Regions from separate parts of the Homo sapiens genome. Here region 1 is linked to region 2. The links are contacts of gene promoters, found by promoter capture Hi-C in blood cells and fetal thymus (Javierre and others, 2016). All regions are on one chromosome and are shown on one strand. The core of a region is centred on a gene start or on the middle of the fragment in contact, and the rest is flanking DNA. Distances in the headings are between cores, read along the strand shown.

Evidence for each region. Contacts are between HindIII fragments. The CHiCAGO score rates a contact against its expected background, and 5 or more counts as called.
Region 1: a contact is called between a fragment that was not itself captured here and the fragment with the promoter of PACRG in region 2, in 1 of 17 cell types (M2 macrophages). The highest score is 6.4, in M2 macrophages.

The regions. Positions count from the first base shown.
Region 1 is chr6:162,140,886-162,146,244 of GRCh38, reverse strand. All of the region lies in intron 4 of PRKN (parkin RBR E3 ubiquitin protein ligase), which reads left to right. Among named protein-coding and RNA genes, the nearest start is that of LNCR-SMAL, 91 kb to the left of the region's middle. The HindIII fragment of the contact is 2,017 bases long and covers 2,471-4,487 here.
Region 2 is chr6:162,725,363-162,731,289 of GRCh38, reverse strand. It overlaps PACRG (parkin coregulated), which reads right to left and starts at 3,316. Exons shown (of 5, transcript NM_001080379.2): 1 at 2,899-3,316. The coding sequence starts at 3,054. It overlaps PRKN (parkin RBR E3 ubiquitin protein ligase), which reads left to right and starts at 3,524. Exons shown (of 12, transcript NM_004562.3): 1 at 3,524-3,628. The coding sequence starts at 3,622. RefSeq lists silencers at 3,696-3,917, 3,407-3,946. The HindIII fragment of the contact is 2,767 bases long and covers 3,288-5,927 here.

The DNA.
Region 1 (5,359 bases), core at 2,230-4,729, 590 kb after region 2:
TCATGGGCCAGACTGTCCATCTCTAGTCTACTATCTTTAGCATATGTTTGCTGGATGGCTACGTGGGTGCTATATAGAAAAAGAGATAATCAGTTGGGAGAATAGGGTCTGGAGGCAGGGATCCTAAGGCCGTTTCACACTGACTTCCTAGAACTAAATTGAAACAAAAACCCCAACATTCCACACCTGAGTAACAAAAGGACCATAGGCTACTCCCTTTGCAAACCCCAACCTTTTCTGTGTGGCAGATGGGAAATTGAAAGTACGTTTGCATAGTAGTGTCACTTTGTATCTTCACTTCAGCCTCTGATTGGTGCTGTCTGCAACCAGTCAGACTGATTACAGGCCAAGTCTTCATTTGCATAGAAGTGCAACTTTGTAACTTTAGCCTCTGATTGGTTGCTTTTCGCCGCCCATCAGATGTTTGTTTAGGAGTATGACCTTTGTAACTTCACTTCAGCCTGATTGGTTGCTTTCTGCAGCCAAGCTGACCTGGATGCTGATTGCGGGCCAACACTGTATTTACATGAGATGTCCACCAAGTGGCCAATGGGAAACCTCTGGGGGTATTTGGACCCAAAAAGATTCTGTTATCTGGGGCCCTTGAGCTGCTGCTTCACCCACTCCCACACTGTGGAGTGTACTTTTGCTTTCAATAAATCTCTGCTTTCTTTGCTTCATTTGTTCCTTGCTTTGCTGTGCATTTGTCTAATTCTTTGTTCAAAATACCAAGAACCTGGACAACTTGCAGGCAAGACTCTCCACTAGCAACAATAATTCCCCCCAATGTGTAAATATTCCCAGGCACAGTGGGCCTGACATTATGCTTAGCACAAAATAATGAGATGGTCCTTACTTACAGGAAAAGAACAATTTCCCCAGACCACCCAAATCACCATTTGGGGAAATCCCTGTGTTTTATTCTACATATCCTTATTCTGAATGTATTGTCTTTATCTGTTTGAACACTGGTACGAACTGTTGACATCCAGGTCTTTATTAAACAGCTAAACCCTGAGAGCAACAAAATTCAAAGCTGAGAAAAGTGGGGATTGCTTGTATGTCTACACACCTAAAAGGGAAATTGAAGGTTATTTTTACCCATCATCATCAGAAGAGTTCAATTTCCGTAATAAATTGCGTTGAAGTGAATACCTTGACTACAGGAAGTCATCAGGGATTTTTCCTCTTTGGAAATTTAATCTGTGATCTCTCTTATAATTAGTGATTAAAAAGAAATGACCAATGGGAGTTCTGTGTGAAAGCCTGAATCCTTGATTAAGTTCTGGGAACTAAAAATGATGAGTTGGTGCTATGCTCCTCATCCCTTAATGTACTAGGCCTTTTACGTTCATCCTCGTCGTTTCACTCCACCGTAGCCTTAAATGTTACTAGATAAGGAGCAAATGTGGTTCTCTCACCAAGGCCTGTCAGTGTGAGACTTTCCACTGTGCCGAAGCTTTACAGTCAGGGTTAGCAACCCAAGCAAGCTGTTTGCTTTTTGCTCATGCCAAGCTAAAAATTGGTGCAATTCTCAGCAGTCAATTAGAACTACCAAAAGTTCCTGAAATCAACTATGTAAGCTGTCATTATGCCCCCTCTGCAGTGGTGAAGCTACAACCAAAGGTTGACCTGGGGGTGGGCCTGTGACCATAGGTCCTACAGTTCGTGTGCACCTACTGCAGACATTGTAGGGAAGCCAGCTCCCAGGAAGGCTCGGAGCACCATAAACCTACACCAGCTGATCTTCTGACAGCATCCTTCCACCTCGATCTCATCTGTAAGTTATGGTGAATAATCTCTGCCTCCATTCTTTCTTACAAGGGTATTATAAGAATTCATTAATGCTGAAAGTACTTTGAGCACCTCTACAAAGTGCTTTTTTGTTATCGTATCACATTTGATATCTCACCAATCTTTTGAAAGATGTGAGTCATGAATATTAAAATCCATCTTGCATATTTTATGTGTTTTTATCATGATGGGAGAATATTAATTTATTGGAGATTTGTGCTTTTCTAAAGGTTGCCTTTAAAGTTCTCTCCAAGTGCGCTTTGTTAACCTCAACCAAGTGTGCGCGGTAACAGGGTCAAGCTGGGGTAGTGAGCACCTACATTTTGAGAGAGAGCCTGTGATAGCAAGCCGCATCACCAGCCCCTTTCTTTGCCTTCTTAAGTGTCAACCACTTTTAAGCATATTACATGGAGAAGAATATGTAGATTTCTTTAAATGAGCCAGATAATTTTTATAATGTCTTATTCAATCAAATATGCCATCCGTTCTGTATGAAATTATATATTTTTGACCCTAATGACTAATAACAGTTTGATTCAGAAATATCTAATTACTCATATCTCTCTGTGACTTTTTCCCCATGAGTTCTCTGTGCCTGGAATGGCTGCAGCCCGTCGCTTCACTCCTGTCTTCTTGAATCAAATGCCTTCTCATTTTTCAAGACTCAATTCAAGCTTCATCACCTCTAAGAAACCCATGCAGACAGAATAAACACTTTTCTCCTGGGCAATCTCATTATACCCTGTGCTATTTATTACCTAATATGTGCAATGCTTTATTGCATTTAATTATTTGCATTCTTATTTTCTTCAAATGTATCTTGTTTGCCCTTGATGTTCAGTTCATATGGCTGCTCATATCAGCATGAATTGTATTCACCTGCTAGGAACAAAGTCCAAAAATTCCAGTGATTTTAAAGCTGACAGAAGTGTACATTTTTCTCTGTAGTAGAAGTCTGGTCATAGGTAGTCTAAAGCCGCCATGTATCACCACTGAGAACCAGGATCTCTGCCTCATTGCCCTTATAGTGCATGGCTATTTTCCCAAGGTCACCTCTTGGTCCAAGACATTCTATGGCACATCAGCCATCAAGTCCATAGTGCAAGCAAGAAGAAGAAAGGAGAATTGCTGATAAAGACTCGTACCAGCCAGCTTCATTCTTTGCATTTAAGGAATAATTTTAACCTTCTGCCAACATTTCATTAGCCAGAAATTAGTCAATGATACTTCTAGCTGCAAGGGAGACTTGGAAATCTAGTGTTGTGGGTGGCCATTTTACCACCTTAAATATCTCATTACTCAACAAGGAAGAAGGAGAAAAATATGTATCACCAAGACAACTAGCTAGTGGCCTCTGCCAAGGTGTTCAGTAATTCTCACATGTATAAATAAATAAAGAACATCTCCTAGAACAATTGGCCATGTATTACGTGCCAACACTGCAAATCATCTTGACCAATTCAGTCACAAAATTGGGAATTAACTGAGAAAAAGTCCAAAGGCTAATTAATTAGGTTGATTGCCTTGGTTTATAAGTAATTTTTTATTCAATTCTAGTAGCTTTCCTCAGACTAGTAGTATTTATCATTATTATTTACCTGTTTCCAATTTCCCATCTTTGTAGTAGAGATGATGATAAAATCTACCTCAAACATGGTTGTTAGCGGATAAAATGAATTAATAATGTAAAGTGCTCAGCATGGTAGGTGTTTATTAAATCTTAGCTGTTTCTTCACTAAAGCAATACTGATTCTGTTACTGTTTACTGTTTGTTTACTCTATTTTGGTCACTGTGGGCAATGCTGTACAAATATTAACTCAAATAATTTGATTATAAGTGCCTTTTGAGGTCTGTGTTGTTATCTTTATTGCATAAATAAAAAATCCAGGGGGTCAGGATGGTCATTCGGCTAGGAGACACATAGCGCTTACTATGTTCCCACCACAGTTCTAAGACCTTTATGATCATTAACTGCTTTAGTCTCCATAACAAGCCTATAATGGAGGAACGATGCTCATCTCCATTATTCAAATGAGGAAACTGAGGCAGAGAGAGTTTAACTTACTTGACCAAAGCCATACATCAAGTACCTGGCAGAGACAGGATGTGGAGCCAGGAAGTCTGACTGCCGGATGCAGGCTCTTCACCACTGGGCTGCCATCTGTGCTGCATGAGCCAGGGCTAGCATCTGGAATTCTCTGGTGCAGGTAACCCCATGACCTGGGGTTGTACATTTAGCCAGTATAATACCCCTTCTCACTATGCATTTTCATTTTTTTTCTATCCATTTCTTAATTGGCTACTCTCCTTCTCTCCTGCCTTACTGCTTTTCAGACTTATTGCAGTTTCGTATCTGAGTTTTGTGAACTAAAATCTTTTAAGCAGCTTATGCATGGATATTAATATAAGTGATCATGTGTTTACATACTCTTGGCATTTAATATGAGTCAAAATAGTAAACGGGACAGCTTACAATGGTGCATTGCAGACTATATTTATGGAAAGGTTTTGGTGATCATCTTGCCTGAGTGCGCTATTTTCAGAACAGATAACACACAAATAATCCTGGTTAGACTGACTCTCCTTTAATGCTTCTTCTCTAGGGAAAAAGGCTACTTCCATCAAATGGGACAATGGGCAGCTATTTCTTTATACCTGCTCTTCGTGTGTGTTAACTCCATGTACATAAGCTTCTTTTGCTCCCCCTACTTCCCAACAGTATATACCACTTATGCAAAGTATACTATATAGCAGTATTCTACATTTATTTGAAATCAACTGGATGCTTTTTAAGTTTCTCTATTACCAATATTGACTGCCATGGGTAATTTGCATGTATTGCCTCCAAATCAAGCATGTTTTCTTTCATTTTTATGTTGTCTTAAAATACATAATCAATAAAGCAAAATATGTTGAAATTTAAATGGTTAATTTGAATGTTAATTGAACAGTAAGACAAGTGACTGCACTTATTTGAGCTAGAATGTCTCTGAATACATTAAACTGTAGATTGCACAGTTGAAGTATTCCAAATATATTTAACTTGGTTTATCAAAACCCATTGAAAAATAAAGCATTAGGTAAATTTGATTTGATTTTGAAGGCTTAGTTATATACTTTCAAAGTTTTGAATCTTAGATACTTTTGATAATTTTTATTAAAAACCCAGAAAACTTACTTTTGAGAGAATTTTGGGGAAGTTGCATGAAAGTCAAAGTTTACAAAAACGTGAGTATGCTAGCATGTTTCATTCTGAATAGTCACTATATCATAAATAATCTTTTTTATTTTTATTTTTATTTATTTATTTATTTATTTTGGTGACAGGGTCTCACTCTGTCGCCCAGGCTGGAGTGCAGTGGCGCGATCTCGGCTCACTGCAAGCTCCGCCTCCCGGGTTCACGCCATTCTCCTGCCTCAGCCTCCGAAGTAGCTGGGACTATAAGCGCCCGCCACAACGCCTGGCTACTTTTTGTGTGTTTTTTAGTAGAGACGGGGTTTCACCGTGTTAGCCAGGATGGTCTCGATCTCCTGATGTTGTGATCTGCCCGCCTCGGCCTCCCA
Region 2 (5,927 bases), core at 2,067-4,566:
TATTATATACTGATGGTCACGCCAGTTCTGAAAATCTGAAATCCAAAATGCTCAAAAGAGTTTTCTTTGAGTGTAATGTCAACACTCAAAAAGTTTTGTATTTTGGACCACTTCAGGTTTCAGACTTTTGGAATAGGAATACTCAACCTTTAATATTAAAAAAATTATTTATTCCATTCCCCTAAACTTTGAGCATAAAGCATCTATAGTCTTTTGAGAAGGAAAGCTGTAATAGAAAGCTTAGGCTGAACTCAACTTCTCTGTCACCATAACCCTGGGTCGATTTTCTAACTTGCTTCGTGATAAGCTTGTTCAGCACAGAAAGTATCTGACAAGATAAAGACAACAAAATACTGGGTTACTAGTTTCTGGTCATGGGCTCTATCACACCCCAAACAAGACTTTTAAAGGAAAATGAACTATGAAATCTTCAAGTTGTGTATCTCATATCTCTTTATAGGCAAGCACTATAAAAATGTGAATTTGAATATTATTTCATTGCAGGGCTTTTGTGATGCTTGTTTTCTTATAGAATGCAACAAAAATTTCATGGAAAGAAAGTCTAGTTTCTATTGAAGAAAAATATTTGACATTGAGATTTTAAAAATTTTGCCATTTACATTTATCATTATTTTTTCAATAATCTTGCACTCTCATATCCAGATTGTTTAAATAAGCATTTCTGCTTGCACAGCCCATTTGATGAAACATATTTATTATCAAGTTTATGTACTTGTATCACTATCGCACTCAGAGAAATATCAGGAGTCTCTGTATAACTCCTTATGATATATACAGTTCTTCATGTTTTAGGTGGAAGAGCATTGGAATGTTGACTTATCTAACTGGAAAAGTGGTTTGGAGGGTGTTGGCTCTTGGAGCATGAGGTTGCAATTAAGAAAAGCTGGAAATTGGCATACACGTCCTGAATCAAAATACACCTTCAGAAAGAGATGAGGACATTTTCACCTTATAATGCTGAGAAGTCTATACTGCTAAAGATAAAAATGGTGAAATGTAAATATTGGTTATGAAATTGAAAATTTTTATTTCCTGTACCACTGAAGTTATTTTGTATAAACGGTATTGTCCAGCCTTCTTTTATCAAGATTTGAATGTTGTTATTTTGGTTTTCCTCGGAGTACTAAGGGCAGGGACTTTGCTTTGCTGATCCCAAATCCCCAGAACTGTGCTTAGCAAACACTGGGTATTAAAAAAAAAAAAAAGAGAGACAGTTGTTGACTGAATAAATAGATGAATGGATAAATAATGTTTGCATTTAAGAATTACGATTTCCAATGGCAAGAGAGGTATTGCTAGTACAAGATTTTCCTTTAGAACATAAAAAGAGAAGATAATGGATCTCAATTAAGTTGTTTATAAAGAAGCCTGCTTCATAATCAATGTTTTTTTTAAGTCATGTAGGCATACTTATTACATTTGGCAATACAGAAACATCAGATTTTGCAGAACTATCTCTTTAGGTGTAAGATTATATTAAAGAATTAATATGATACAAGAATTATGAATACAGGTTTAGGAAAAAACAGAAAAGAACCCCAACCAGTAAAAAAAAAATTAAAGTATAACATTAAAAAACATCAAAATTGTAAATATTGTGTAGAAGAAAAACTAAATGATTAACCTGAATGGTTATGGTATTGCTGATAAATGCATCATCTTGACTCCTAGGAGAACCAATTTATGTGAAATTCCATGAAAAAGAATTAGTTACAACAAGCAGAATTTTAGTCCATTTCCAAGAATTTTAACTACTGTAAATCACCTGACACACTTCCCAATAATTAGGATATCGTTTTGCATAGCCACATGGGAACCTGGCCTAGAGGTCTATAGGTAATCTGTTTCATTCATGTATTTTAAGTATGTCGTTTAGGAATAAGTTATCAGGTTTGCAACCTATAAGCAAAGGAAATAATGTGACACTGGAAAACAACACTATTCATTTAACATAATGAATTGCCATGTAATAACTCAGATCTTCCCAGGGTGTAAATTACACAAATTTGAAAGATGCATTTATTATTTAATGCCTCATTCCCAGACAGTTGCTTACTCAGTAGCAAAATCTGTCTTAGCATACCAAGTGTAAAGCTATTTAACAAATAGGAAGGTTTAAAAAATATATACTATCATGCAGACAGCTAAAATATTTGTATATATTTTTAATCTTTTTTCTCTAATGATACTTAGAATATTTTATTTTTATTACTACAAATAATAGAGATGAAATATGAATTGTATTAGTAGCAGAGATATATGAGCTAAAGCTTGTATTGTTTAAAGCACATCATCTTAAAAGGCCTGTCAGGAAACAGTGTTCATATTAAGTTGGCTTTCAGTACTCTAAGAAGATGACATCATTTTGTAAGAGACAAGTGTTGTTAGAGCAAATGCTAGGATATTCTAAAATTTCCTAGGTTGAAGTGAAGAAATTTCTCATTATAGATTATTTCATGAGTTTATGTTCCCGGTTGTATATCAGCTCATGTTAAATTTTGCAAGAGTTTATGATTTCTAAGAACTCACCTTCTATAAGGCCCTTTGCTGAGTGGGGCTAGTTAGGAATTAGTAAGTAAAGGGGATCTTTTTTCCTCGTGTAAATAGCTTAAGAGTAATTTTGGGCGGTCCAGAAACCATAAGTTATCAGGAAGGTGCTTATAAATGGGCAGAGTACATCACTTGCCCAAGATTCTAACAACCTAGCCTGCCCCCCACACACTGTGGGGCACCGTTTGCTACTTGCCAAGTAACTGCCTTTTTTGGCAAAGACCACCCAGGACATGGCTCAGAGTCCATCCTAAGGCTGGCCAACCTCTGTAAATCTCGTGTCCCCTGATTCAGAGCGAGTGCATTTAATTCAGGAAGATCACTTACGACTGAGTTTTTCATCATGGCTTTGACTGTGAAACCCTCAGAAACCAGAGAGTGAGGCTGGTGCACCGGGAGCGGCTGTTGTGCCAGCAGCTTGGTCCTCTTCGGCATCTTGTCTGGGCATTTGTTTAAGCTCAGGGTCTCTTTTTCTGCCACCATCTTCCTAGAAAATGTCTTGTTCTCATAAAAAGTGTAGTAAAAGAATCAGTGGGCTTTACGGATGTGAGCAGGAGGTCTGGAAAAAAATATCAAAAGGCGCGATAATGGTAGAAATTCAACCCCTCGTAGTGCCCAGGTTGATCCAGATGTTTGGCAGCTCCTAGGTGAAGGGAGCTGGACCCTAGGGGCGGGGCGGGAAGAGGGCAGGACCTTGGCTAGAGCTGCAACAAGCTTCCAAAGGTAAGCCTCCCGGTTGCTAAGCGACTGGTCAACACGGCGGGCGCATAGCCCCGCCCCCCGGTGACGTAAGATTGCTGGGCCTGAAGCCGGAAAGGGCGGCGGTGGGGGGCTGGGGGCAGGAGGCGTGAGGAGAAACTACGCGTTAGAACTACGACTCCCAGCAGGCCCTGGGCCGCGCCCTCCGCGCGTGCGCATTCCTAGGGCCGGGCGCGGGGGCGGGGAGGCCTGGAGGATTTAACCCAGGAGAGCCGCTGGTGGGAGGCGCGGCTGGCGCCGCTGCGCGCATGGGCCTGTTCCTGGCCCGCAGCCGCCACCTACCCAGTGACCATGATAGGTACGTGGGTACCTGCCAGGTACAGCCTCTCTGCGCCGCCCCACGCCCCGGTATGGCGCCACGCCCCGCCTCGGCCGACCAGGACCCCCGGTGCCAACTGTCAATGACGGGGCCAAAGTGCCCGTGCCGTCCCCGGCCCGCGCCGCCGGGCTCCCCAGCTCAGCGACGCGGGTCCGGGGCCCCAGTGTGTGCGTTCGAAGCCCTCGCCTGCCCGCCCCTGCTCTGAGCGTTCTCATGAAGACCGCCTCGACGGGGACGCCAGGCGGCCCCGCACCCCCGCTCCTCGTTCGCGGTCCCCCGGACCGTGTGGGGTCCCGAAGCCTTCTCCCCGCCGCCGCCCCTCACCTTCGCCCCGCCGCCGCCCCTCACCTTCGCCCCTCACCTCACTGGCCGGTTGTGGTGCGGTTCAGGACCCATCGAGACCCACTCTCTGTGGGGCTCTTTCAGGAAACCGCAGCAAAGCATTAAACTCTAATGGAAGGCACCTGGTGAGGGTGGCTGGCTCCACAGAAACTCCTCCAGATAGATCTAAACTTGCTCCCTCGGATGTTTCCTTTTAAACTTCTCATTGGAGGGCTGAGATGAAAGAAACATTAAGAGTAAATAGTAGCCAAGATTAAATCTATTGCCTTTTGCAAAATAACCTTTCTTTTTTTTTTTTGTAAAAGAACGACCGAGGTGCAAGTTTGTGAACGAAACTTAGTGGCATCAGAGTTGTTCATGAACACTTGATGTGTAAGATGAGCAAAGGTCCTCTCTTCCAGGGTTGTTGAGCCAAAAGTTACTTTAGGGGCTATCCCTGAAAATTAATGGAAATGCACCATATGTTTGAAAAACAGTGCTAGATGGGGTTTCATTATTGTGGAGGTTTCTCCAGGTTATGTATGGAGGGTTTAGTGAGCTTGTTTATTCCTGAGGAGGGTCCTTTACAAAACACTTTTGATTGCAGTAAGTACGTTCGAAGTCAGATGTGGTCTGTCCAGAAGAAAGATGAGAGGTGGATTTATAAAGTATATGATCTTTATGCACTGAAAACACTTCTTACATCTGTTTATTTGTGAAGTTATTGTTAAAATGTAAACATTCTCCCCATCAGTGGGAGAATCAAGCCAGCTAACTGGCATGGTCTTTGTGGTAAAACAAGAATGTTGTCCAACTTTTCTTCCCTTTCTAGCATGGTCTGACTTTTGGTGAATGACTTGAAAGTTAATCAAATTACGAAAAAAATATTTTTTATGAGTCTTCTTGAGCTCTTTTTAGGTGACATTTACGTAAGATTCACTTGCAAGCACAAGTTTGAACTGAATCAGAAAACCAAGTAGAAGAGATTTTCCAATATCTGTGCTGTCAGTCTACAGGAAGAAAATAGCCTATACCTTATTTTGAAGACAGTTAAATACATTTTATTTTAATTTAACTTAATCTAGTGCACAGATAATTTTAAGAGAAACAAATTTATTGTAAAGCTATATAAAGACAAGCACTTAAGATCTAAAGAACATTACTCAGTTATAAGTTATGACCTAATAAGTGATTATATAAATAACTTTATTAGGATGAAATGTGTTTGGACAGTTCTGTTTAGTTTTATCTGGAATTCTTCCAATAAGGAAGAAATATCTTTGGAGTTGATGATTAAACAGTTATCAATTACTGGTAATGACATGGAGAATATAAGGTTGGTTTTTAAAAGTGTTATTTCTCTCACTCCAGCCATGGTTTTACATAGTGCAAATAAGTGTGCAGTACAACATAAATGATTAAATCCATGCCTGCTTTCCCTAGGAAATGTGCCTTACATATAAGATCATGGACAATGTGCAATAAAATATTCAACTAGTTGCATTGCCTAATTCTGAAATTAGACACACGTCTTTTTTTTTTTTTTTTCCTCTTTTTGAGACAGGTTCTGTCTCTGTCACCCAGGCCGGAGTGCAGTGGCACCATCACAGCTCACTGCAGCCTCCAACTCCTGGGCTCAAGTGATCCTCCCATCTCAGCCTCCTGAGTAGCTGTGACTACAGGTGTGTGCCACCATGCCTGCCAATTTTTTGTTATAGTTTTTGTAGAGATGGAGTTTCATAATGTTGCCCAGGCTGGTCTCAAACTCCTGGGCTCAAGCAATCCTCCCGCATTCGCCTCTGAAAGTGCTGGGATTACAGGCATGAACCACCACGCCCAGCCTCATTAGCCACATTTCAGTAAACATCTGAATGGTCAGTTTGGGATTTGGGTGTCGTGAACAGTGCTAAAGGTAGGTGAAAGTGAAAACCATTAAAAGGAAGCCTTGGAGTGATGG